Linked DNA regions of Homo sapiens: regions 2, 3 and 4 are each linked to region 1. The links are contacts of gene promoters, found by promoter capture Hi-C in blood cells and fetal thymus (Javierre and others, 2016). All regions are on one chromosome and are shown on one strand. The core of a region is centred on a gene start or on the middle of the fragment in contact, and the rest is flanking DNA. Distances in the headings are between cores, read along the strand shown. Region 1 holds the start of PAWR (pro-apoptotic WT1 regulator). Region 2 overlaps OTOGL (otogelin like). Region 3 overlaps OTOGL (otogelin like). Region 4 overlaps OTOGL (otogelin like).

Region 1 (2,849 bases), core at 228-2,727:
TCCCTTACTCTCCTTAAAACTCAGAAAACAAACTAATGAATATGTAATTGAGAAACTTCAGGTGGCACACTGGGGTTGGTACTAGCTTAGGTAAACAGCCGCTCAGCCTTTTAGACCTATTCCCAACAAAAGCTTTTAATTTTCTAAGGATTTTTCCAGAGCTCTCGCCATACGTTTCCCACAACAGCCAGACCAAAGACCAAAACTGTCTTTCCCTGAGAAATATAGAGCATGTGAATCACTTTCTTCTGTTCCCAGTTCTGTGGCAGGCAAACACTGATTGCTCACTCATCATGTGCTACCTGGGCAAAACAGGAATATTAAGTAGGAAGAAAGGTTTATGTTAGGTAAGAGCGTGACTTAGGGCTCTCCTACTTTTTTACAAAATGGAGACCTGGCATTTGTAGCCTCCCACAATGATGTGCCCTGACATTACTTGGATATAGAAAGGTCAGTCTTAGGTGCGTCAGTGACAGCCCACCCCGCTCTGATCCAGAAATTTCAGATGACTTGCATCAGAGGATAAGCCTCTGGCATGTTAATAATGAAAAAATAGAGACAATCACTGCCCCAGCTCATCTCAAATTAGCATCAGTGCAGCGTTAGTACTTTGGTAGGGAGCTTTGCTGCTAAATTCATTCTCTGTAAAGAGGAGAGGCAGAGACAGGGTTAAGGGGAAAACTCCAAGACTGGAATCGCCAATACAATAAACTGTCGAACTGAGTTTTTTCTCCCGCAACCCTAAGATACTAGTAAGTCCTTCCTCTTAGCCAACCCTTTTCACCAGGGCACCGCAGTTTTCTTAGAAGGAGGGTGCTGGGTTTGTCTCAGGTCTTTCTATTCTCCTGCCCGCTGCCCTAGTACATCTGAAAAGGGAGCAGCGACTAGGAAAAGAGACACGTGGGTATTTTCCCATCCTGTCTAGTCATTCCCTGAATCATCACAAGTTATCGCACTTTTCCCCTTAGCCAGCAGCGTTCGAGACTTTCTCTCAAATAATACGGTCTTGTACTTAAAAGGAAGAGTGGTGGGAGAAGAGAGAGGCGGAGAAGACAAGCAAGAAGGGCGTGGAGTGCCGTTCCCGCCCCGGAGTCGGAGGCGCCGGGAGGCCGGACGCCGCGAAGCTGCTAGCCCAGGAATGTGCCGTCTAACTCGCAGGCCGCGGGCGGAGCGCGGCGGGCGCGCTGTGGTCTGCGGCGGGAGCGGGGCAGAGGACGGCTGGCGCAGGGCAGGCTGCAGCGGCGGGCCGGACGCGACGCCGCGCACCTGAGCGCCGGGGGCGGGGCGTCAGCGGCCACGACCCTTCCCACCGCGCGCCGCGCCCCTCGCGCGCCGCCTCGGCCTTTTCCGCTCGTGCTTCGGCGCCGCTCGGCTCCCTTCCCGCCCCTGGCTCCCTCCCTCCCTCCCTCCCTCCTTCTTCTCCCTCCCTCCTGTCCTGGGATTGCCTGGAGCTCCGCACCGCGAGTTTGCCGCGGCACTTTCCGCGCGGCGGAAGAGCGCGCGCCAGCTTCGGCACACCTGGGAGCCGGATCCCAGCCCTACGCCTCGTCCCCTACAAGCTCCTCCAAGGTAAGGCGCTCGCTCACACCCGGTCCTTTCCACGCTCGGCGGGACAGCTGGGTCCCCGCCTCCTCTGCGAACCGGCTAGGAGCTCCGCGCCTCGCCTTGGGAGTGGGGTTGTAGCTGACGGGGACCTCGGACCGGCGGTGGCTAGAGCGCGGAGCAGGCGATACGACGAGCCGACAGGTGGCGGGTCTAGCCCTAGTATCTCGACCGCCGCCGGCGCGGACCTTGGTGGGGATGGGGCGGGCGGGCCGACTTGGGGGTGGGGTCAGTCCTCTCTCCTCCCTTCTAGGGGCGGCGATCGTCGGGGTCCGTACTGTAGGTGCGTGGGAGAAACTTTGCAGGGTGGGGACCCGGCGGCTGCTGGCCGGTAGTGACTGGTGGGCGCGCTCGAGGACTCCAAGGGGCGCAGCCCGGGGGCAGACCCTTGGGTCGGGCGGGGATCTTACGCTTCCCTTACCCGCCCCCTTTTGTCTTTCACCTCAGCCCCGCCGGCTGCTGTGGGAGCGGCGGCCGTCCCTCTCCTGGAGGTCGTCTCCTGGCATCCTCGGGGCCGCAGGAAGGAAGAGGAGGCAGCGGCCGGAGCCCTGGTGGGCGGCCTGAGGTGAGAGCCCGACCGGCCCCTTTGGGAATATGGCGACCGGTGGCTACCGGACCAGCAGCGGCCTCGGCGGCAGCACCACAGACTTCCTGGAGGAGTGGAAGGCGAAACGCGAGAAGATGCGCGCCAAGCAGAACCCCCCGGGCCCGGCCCCCCCGGGAGGGGGCAGCAGCGACGCCGCTGGGAAGCCCCCCGCGGGGGCTCTGGGCACCCCGGCGGCCGCCGCTGCCAACGAGCTCAACAACAACCTCCCGGGCGGCGCGCCGGCCGCACCTGCCGTCCCCGGTCCCGGGGGCGTGAACTGCGCGGTCGGCTCCGCCATGCTGACGCGGGCGGCCCCCGGCCCGCGGCGGTCGGAGGACGAGCCCCCAGCCGCCTCTGCCTCGGCTGCACCGCCGCCCCAGCGTGACGAGGAGGAGCCGGACGGCGTCCCAGAGAAGGGCAAGAGCTCGGGCCCCAGTGCCAGGAAAGGCAAGGGGCAGATCGAGAAGAGGAAGCTGCGGGAGAAGCGGCGCTCCACCGGCGTGGTCAACATCCCTGCCGCAGAGGTGAGCCGGGCGGGGGCCGCAGCCGGACCGGGCCGGGGCGGGCAGCTGCCTCCCGGTGTCTTCCTCCTGGGAGCTACCCGGGGCGCAGAGTTTACCTCCCCTGGCTCGTACTTGTCCCTTCACCGAGTTAGGCAGGC
Region 2 (2,849 bases), core at 210-2,709, 590 kb before region 1:
AATCAGCAGCATTTCTATACACCAATAGTGTTCAAGCTGAGAGCAAAATCCAGAATGTAATTCCATTCACAATAGCCATACACACAAAAAAAAAATACCTAGGTATACAGCTAACCAGGAAAATGAAAGATCTCTACAACAAGAATTACAAAACACTGCTGAAAGAAATCAAGACGACACAAACAAATGGAAATACATTTTATGCTCATGAGTAGGAAGAATCGATATTGTTAAAATGGCCATACTTCCCAAAGCTATCTACAAATTCAATGCCATTCCTAAGCAGAAAGAACAAAGCTGGAAGCATCAAACTACCCAACTCCAAACTATACTACAAGACTACAACAACCAAAACAGCATGGTACTGGCACAAAAACAGACACAATGGAACAGGTTAGAGAACCCAAAAACATAGCCACATACCTACAACCATCTGATCTTTGACAAAGCTGACAATAATAAGCAATGAGGAAAGGATTCTCCATTCAATAAATGCTGCTGGGATAACCAGCTAGCCATATGCAGAAGGTTGAAACTGGAACATTTCCTTGCATTAAATACAAAAATCAACCAAAGATGGATTAAAGACTTAAAAGTAAGACCTAAGATCATAAAAAACCTAGAAGAAAACCTAGGGAATGCTATTCTGGATGTAGGCCTTGTCAAAGATTTCATAACAAAGACACCTAAAGCAATTGCAACAAAAACAAAAATTGACAAGTGGGGCCTAATTAAACTAAAGAGCTTCAGCACACCCAAAGAAATGTCCACAAAATAAACAGAAAACCTACAGAATGGGAGAAAATATTTGCAAATTATGCACCCTACAAAGGCCTAATAACCAGAATCTACAAGGAACTTAAACAAGTCAATAAGTACAAAACAACCCCATTAGAAATGGGCAAAGGACATGAACAGACACATCTCAAAAGAATACATACATGCAGCCAACAAGCATATGAAAAAATGCTCAACATCATTAATTATTAGAGAAATGCAAATCAAAACCATAATAAGATATCATCTCACAGCAGTCAAAATGGCTATTATTAAAAAGTCAAAAAAAAACAGATGTTGGCAAGGTTGCGAAGAACAGGGAATGCTTATACACTGCTATATGCTGCTGGTGAGAATGTAAATTAGTTTAGCCACTGTAGAAAGCAGTGTGGCAATTTCTTAAAAAACTTAAAACAGAATTACCAGTCAACCCAGCAATCCCATTATTGTGTATATACCCAAAGGAATATAAATCATTCTACCGTAAAGACACATGTATGCATACATTCATTGCAGCACTACTCACAATAGCAAAGACATGGAATCAACCTAAATGCCCATCAACAGTGGAAAGGATAAAGAAAATGTGGTACATATACACCATGGAATATTACATGGCCATAAGAAAGAAATGTCTTTTGCAGCAACATGGATGCAGCTGGAGACCATTATCATAAGTGAATTAACACAGGAACAGAAAACCAAATACCGCATGTTCTCACTTATAAGTGGGAGCTAAACATTGGGTATATATGGAAACAAAGAGGGGAATAATAGACATTGGGGCCTACTACTTAAGGGTGAAGGATGGGAGGAGGGTAAGGGTCAAAAAACTATCTATTGGGTACTATGCTACTACCTGCATGATGAAATTCTTTGTACACCAAACCCCAGCAACATGTAATATACCCACATTAACAGACCTTCCCAAGTACCCCCGAACCTGAAATAAAAGTTGAAAATATATATAATTGTTTTATAGGTTTTATAAATAACACATGAATTTGATATATCAGGGACCAGCATACTTGTTTTTTACATTAAATCTTTACACGAATGCAAATAAAAATGTGTAACTGTGACCTACCTTTATCAAAAACACCTGGCAATCACTGATATAGTCATATTCTAGTCCATCAAAAGAATAATAATGTCGGTCCCCGTATATTGTGCACACTGCTGGGCATGGATAATATGTGCAATTGAACATTCCTCGTCGACAAACGCTATTAAAAAATAACAAAAGTTACCTTTCTAAAGAAACGACTCTAACTAGTGATTTCAAGTGACAGCAACATTGGAATGTCTGTATTCAAGAGAATTCATGAGTCAATATCCCTTACGAATATTGCCAGTTCATTCTGATACCACCTATTACATTGACAAATTAGGCATACGTTTTTCACTTCCTTTAAATAAATTATCAGACACCAAAACCGAGCCTAGGAATTGTGCATAGGTCACACAGAAAGTAGATGATAGAATGAAAAACTGAACACAGGTCTGCTGGTAGCTGAAAAAGCACAATGCCATCTCCCATATTTGAGTAAATTTAAATGCATTAGACATGACATTGCTCATGAGTTTAGAATCTTTGTCCATATTTTAGGGAAATTATATTTCAAATTTTATTTTATGGTATTCTTTTGACTTACCTTGAAACAGAAAACCTTCCATTAAATACGGTCTTTTCTTTGTAACATTTAGCACTTTCTTATAAACATGAGATATTTTTTCCTATTAAAATTTTAGATTGTTGTGTTTCACAGTTTTCTTCTGGGCTGAACAAATATGCATAAAAATAATGATATAGTCCCCTGCAGATAGTAACTGTCCACCAACTCCTGCAGGCCTTTAAATTATTTGCTGAGGCTTGATTTACTTTTTGCTGATGTCAGTCTCATTAAATAAATAAAAGATGATTGAAATTTACACAATTACTTAGGAAAATATTTGTGAAATAAATGGATCTCCTTACCAGGTGTAACACGGTGTAGCAATCACTTCTCCTGAGAGATACTCCCAATCTTTCCAAATACATGGGCAGCTTTCAGGAACATAACACTTTCCTC
Region 3 (2,849 bases), core at 177-2,676, 530 kb before region 1:
CTGAGAATCAAATCAAGAACTCAACCCCTTTTACAATAGCTGCAAAAAACATTAAAATACTTAAGAATATATTTAATCAAGGAGGTGAAAGACCTCTACAAGGAAAACTACAAAACACTGCTGAAAGAAATCATAGACAACACAAACAAATAGAAACACATCCCATGCTCGTTGATGGGTAGAATCAATATTGTGAAAATGACCACACTGCCAAAAGCAATCTACAAATTCAATGCAATTCCCATGAAAATACCACCATCATTCTTCACAGAACTAGAAAAAACAATCATAAAATTCATATGGAACCAAAAAAGCCACATAGCCAAAGCAAGACTAAGCAAAAAGAACAAAGTTTGAGGCATTACATTACCCGACTTCAAACTATAGTATAAGGCCATAGTCACCAAAACAGCATGGTACTGGTATTAAAACAGTCATATAGAACAACAGAGAATCCAGAAATAAAGCCAGATGCTTACAGCCAACTAATTTTTGACAAAGTAAACAAAAACATAAAGTGGGGAAAGGACATCCTATTCAACAAATGGTGCTGGGATAATTGGCTAGCCACATGCAGAAGAATGAAACTGGATCCTCATCTCTCACTTTATACAAAAATCAACTCAAGATGGATAAAATACTTAAATCTAGACGTGAAACCATACAAATTCTAGAATATAACATTGGAAAAGCTTTCTAGACATTGGCTTAGGCAAAGCATTCATGACCAAGAACCCAAAAGCAAATACAGCAGAAACAAATATAAACAGACAAGACTTAATTAAACTAAAAAGCTTTTATGCAGCAAAAGAAATAATCAACAGAGTAAACAGACAAGTCACAGAGTGGAAGAAAATCTTTGCAATCTATACATCCAACAATGGACTAATATACAGAATCTACAAGGAACTCAAACAAATTAGCAAGAAAAAAACAAACAATTCCATCAAAAAGTGAGCTAAGGACATGAATAGACAATTCTCAAAAGAAGGTATACAAATGGCCAACAAACATGAAAAAATTATCAACATCACTAATTATCAGAGAAAAACAAATGAAAACCACAATACAATACCACTTTATTCCTGCAAGAATTACCATAATTTAAAAATCAAAAAATAATAGATGTTGGTATGGATGTGGTGAAAAGGGAACACTTTCACACGGTTGTTGGTAATTTAAACTAGTACAACTACTATGAAAAAGAGTATAGAGATTCCTGAAAGAACTAAAAGTAGATCTACCATTTGACCCAGCAATCCTACTCCTAGGTATCTCCCCAGAAGAAAAGAAGTCATTATACAAAAAAAGATACCTGCATACACATGTTTATAGCAGTACAATTCACAATTGCAAAAACATGGAACCAGCCCAAATGCCCATCAATCAATGAGTGGATAAAGAAAATATGATATATATACATATATGCCATATATATATACATATATATACATACACACACACACACCATGGAATACTACTCAGCCATAAAAAGGAACAAAATAATGGCATTTCCAGCAACCTGGGTGGAATTGGAAAGCATTAGCCTAAGTGAAGTAACTTGGGAATAGAAAACCAAACATCATATGTTCTCACTCGTAAGTGGGAACTAAGCTATGAGAATGCAAAGGGATAAGAATTACACAATGGACTTTGGGGACCAAGGGGAAAGGCTGGGGGGTGATGAGGGGTAAAAGACTACACATTGGGTACAATGTACACTGCTCAGGGGATAGTGGACTAAAATCTCAGAAATCAACATGTAACCAAACACCATCTCTTCCCCCAAAAACCTATGAAAAAAAAGAAGTTTCAGGGCCTACTTTTAATATTTGCATCACCTTAGAAAGGAGGAGAATGTAGGCAGCCCCAACGTAAGTAAAAAGGGAAAGCATAACAGAGATTCAAATATGTTTTGACTATGGAGAGTTGTAGCTTTTAAATCCAACAACATAGCAGTTTCCTGGTAGTGATTGAAATACCTAGAAATTCAGAAGATAGTAGGCAAAGAAAGAGGTCCCTGACATCCTTATTCAACTAGAGCCACTCTGAAGCTTATATTTTCGAGAGGTCTCCTAAGAATTCATTTGAATCAAGAATTCTGCAACTAAGAATTAATTCTCTGAGTTCAGTCATATAGTATCAAACTACCTAGCAATTAGCTGTCAGTCTTCACATCCGATAGCCTGTGCTTATGTAACTCATACACTCCATTTTATAAATGTTAGCCTCTGGTTCATACTGAGGGTGTCATTTCAAAAAACTAAACCAGCTGGACATATCTCACTGGAAGTATCAGGAAGGAAGGAAGTGTGAGTAATATGGTTCGTAACTGAACCCAGACCCTCTTCAAAATAAGTATTCATTCTATTATTAGTATATATTTTGCATCATTTTCCCAGTACTTTAAAAATACATACTTTTCCAGAGATAATATTTTTAAGTTAATCATGTCCTACAATCACCTACCCATACAGTGTACCGAGGCTCCAAATCACCACAGTCCTTTGCAAAAATGTAAGAACAGTTTCCTGGGAAGTAATAGTAGATGCCATCGAATGTTTCAAAATGATACTGTCCCCAGGTTTTACAAATCCCATCTCTGCCGTTGCCCATGTTTGGGACTGAAAAGAAACAGGATAATATTTTGTAGGCAAAATAAATTACACGTTTCTAGCAATGTTCAGTCAGTCATGGTAAATGATTCTAATTTTCATTCAAATTTCCTTCCTTGGTCTATAACACAGGAAGAAATAACTAACATAAAATTAACAGTTGCTCTCAAAACTATCAAACTCCCCTGAAGAAAAACAGGGTCTCCAAGTAGTTATGAAGAAAAGATTTATGTT
Region 4 (2,849 bases), core at 112-2,611, 510 kb before region 1:
GTACTTAATTAAAATGTAGTAACTCTGAACTTTTCATCTCAAGTTTCATATAGTATCTTTAAAGTTTTTATTCAAAAGCATCACAGTCATTTTCACTGAATAAAGTTGAAAAGTTCAAGCCTGTATTATTTGATGTTTTTATGACTATTTTTCTATTTTGAACTATATGTATTTAAAAACTGTTAAGTGGTTTTGTCTGGTAGAATTTGACCAGGCACAGTGGCTCACGCCTGTAGTCCCAGCACTTTGGGAGGGAGCACTTCAGCTCAGAAGTTTAAGATTAGCCTGGACAACATGATGAAACTCTGCCTCTACAAAAAAAAAAAAAAATACAAAACAATTAGCTGGGCATGGTAGCATGCTCCTGTAGTCCCAGCTACTATGGAGGCTGAGGTGGAAGGATCGTTTGAGCCCAGGAGGTCAAGGTTGCCGTGAACTGAGGTCACACCACTGCACTCCAGCCTGGCAACAGAGCAAGACCCTGTCTCAAAAAATAAAGAAAAAAATAGTAGAATTTGTAAGAGGAAGCCTCAGGGTTGTTACTATTTTATAGATAGAGCAAGCTTTGGTGTATGTCTTCTCTCTGCTCCTCTTCCATCCAGGCTCATAGTAGGAAAAATGTTAGAAAAGGAGAATGAACAATGGCAAAGAGAACAATAACAAAAATCCCAAGTCCTTTTTCAACTAACTACATTATGAACTCGATATATGAAATGGTAGCCTGCATGAAAATAAGCAAAACAGACTTCCTTAAATAGCTGCAATAGAAGAGAGTTTAGATGAAAGATTAGACTCAGAGCCACAAAACACAGAATTTATGACTGTTGCTACATGTAATTATTACTGTCAAAATGTAATTGACAGCTTTTATATTTCATTCCACCCTGACAAAAGAACTTTGGCAAAAAGTAAGCCAGCCACCAGCTTGTGAAGTGATATTAAGTTCATAAGAAGTCTGAGACAACTACATAATACAAGCAATAAACAGTTCCCTTTCTGCTACAAAAGCACTGCACATTTTCCCACATGGAATATGATCTTTAGAAAGTGACACCTGACAGCCTATTGGCCTCAACCCAACACATTAAAACAACTGGCAAGAATGGGAAAATTTTTATTGAGGAGTATATATGTCAATGATAATAATGGGATATTTGTAATGAAGCTCATCATTTTTGAGGAAAGTTAATTTCTTTGGTGATTTACATAACACTCATTTTTCATCAATTGACAACAAATTTAAAGTAGATAACATTTGACTCCCGTAATATCACATTCTGCTAGTGAAATGCAAATACTCTTTACTTGTGTTACTAAACCTAACACATTTCAAGTTCATAGATTTTATCCAGAATTTATGTTATCATTTGAGCCAGCAAATAGAATCTTGTATCTTTAAAATGATGTTTGCCACTCTGAATGTAACTGTCTTATTACAAGATAGTTTGTAGTATTCTATTTGTGCTTTCTGGATGTGTGTTGCTTGGCAGTTTCTGGGATGTTTCATATAATTTTAGAAGTAGCATCTATCTTACCTTTTCTGAGTAAGGATATGATTATATTTCATAAGCAGTATCTGTGTTGGTCATGATTTCAATTTAACACTCATCCCCAGAAGTTAATGTGTTATGTTTTATAGCGACATTTGTTTTTCAACTTGCTGTGATGCCGTTGATTTGTAATATCTAATTGATACCTTGAAAGAAGTAATGTTTCTTCAACTAAAGTTTTCTCTTGTCAACATTTTAGCATCGAGTTCAGTTTCTGCAGCTATCTTCATTCTCTGAACTACTACAACACTTTGCACTTGTACCATATAGTGAAAATATTAATGTAAGGCACTATTTAATACCATAAAGTTGGTTTCTCATGCTTTGAATTCCTTTATATCTTCAATAATTTTTATGTACTTACTTTAGAGTTGTTGAGAAAGAATGTTATTTCAATTTTTTAGTGGCAGTAGGGGTGGTTCTAATCTTGTTGTTTGTTGTTCGTTTCTCTCACTTAGGATAGATGACTTCATGGATTTTGTAATTTTGAATTTGGGGTCCATGTCTGGCAGGGCATTTTATATGGGAATCCTTTACCACCAAAGTTGAGTATGTTCCCCTCCAAAAAAGATTTTGTACCAACTTCTGCCAAGTGCTCCAGGAAGCTTCATGTTAATTTCTCAGCTTAAGGGTTCACAGACCACAGAATATAAATTCAAATCCCAAACATAAAGTAAAGTAAACCAAGTCCAGTTTCTGTTTTGTTTCTGGTCTCTGGTAATATTCCTTACATTCTAGTGAACTTATTCAACCATTTACATGGTTGACTATTTTATTAAATTCCGTACTTCCAAGTACTTTATACTTGGAAGATTTTTATATCATGTAATCTGCCATATTATTAAAACCAAACCACCAAGCATCAAAAATTACACGCTTTTATTTTCTAGGTTACTTTATATATTTTCTTTCTTACTTTTTCAACTTAATTACAACTTACTTAGCTTACTTACAAACAAACGTTCTTCAAAATAAATAACTGTAAATTTGTAAAGAAAGCGTGCTATACTTGGATCCAATTATTTAAACTATAAAACAAAACCTGTCAAATCCCAAAATGTCGTGATTGGATGACTTCATACAACACCAAGGTTCCAAATCAGACACCTGGCAATCTGATTTATGACAAGAGCCACTGGAGTGTCAAACGTTAGCCTATCATCTTCTGCTTCCCCTATATTGGCAAGATTGATATGGAAAACTGCTTTTGGAGATATGGCATTACTGTGATATTCAACACAGCACAAATCAGTATGAAAACATAACTTAGAAGGAATTATGCCCTTCGTTTGAATTGAG

Evidence for each region. Contacts are between HindIII fragments. The CHiCAGO score rates a contact against its expected background, and 5 or more counts as called.
Region 2: a contact is called between a fragment that was not itself captured here and the fragment with the promoter of PAWR in region 1, in 1 of 17 cell types (total CD4 T cells). The highest score is 5.9, in total CD4 T cells.
Region 3: a fragment that was not itself captured here is called in contact with the fragment with the promoter of PAWR in region 1 in 1 of 17 cell types (megakaryocytes); the score reaches 6.4 in megakaryocytes.
Region 4: a contact is called between a fragment that was not itself captured here and the fragment with the promoter of PAWR in region 1, in 1 of 17 cell types (megakaryocytes). The highest score is 8.9, in megakaryocytes.

Annotation. Positions count from the first base shown.
Region 1 is chr12:79,689,592-79,692,440 of GRCh38, reverse strand. It overlaps PAWR (pro-apoptotic WT1 regulator), which reads left to right and starts at 1,477. Exons shown (of 7, transcript NM_002583.4): 1 at 1,477-1,569; 2 at 2,050-2,712. The coding sequence starts at 2,197. It overlaps PPP1R12A-AS2 (PPP1R12A antisense RNA 2), which reads right to left and starts at 2,409. Exons shown (of 7, transcript NR_187531.1): 1 at 2,045-2,409. RefSeq lists silencers at 1,180-1,479, 2,250-2,769. The HindIII fragment of the contact is 6,027 bases long and covers 135-2,849 here.
Region 2 is chr12:80,278,182-80,281,030 of GRCh38, reverse strand. OTOGL (otogelin like) reads right to left here. Exons shown (of 59, transcript NM_001378609.3): 25 at 2,756-2,849; 26 at 1,865-2,003. Among named protein-coding and RNA genes, the nearest start is that of PTPRQ, 160 kb to the left of the region's middle. The HindIII fragment of the contact is 3,705 bases long and covers 1-2,849 here.
Region 3 is chr12:80,221,866-80,224,714 of GRCh38, reverse strand. OTOGL (otogelin like) reads right to left here. Exons shown (of 59, transcript NM_001378609.3): 7 at 2,470-2,624. Among named protein-coding and RNA genes, the nearest start is that of OTOGL, 120 kb to the right of the region's middle. The HindIII fragment of the contact is 1,260 bases long and covers 797-2,056 here.
Region 4 is chr12:80,204,168-80,207,016 of GRCh38, reverse strand. The region is part of intron 1 of OTOGL (otogelin like); the gene reads right to left. Among named protein-coding and RNA genes, the nearest start is that of OTOGL, 110 kb to the right of the region's middle. The HindIII fragment of the contact is 1,592 bases long and covers 566-2,157 here.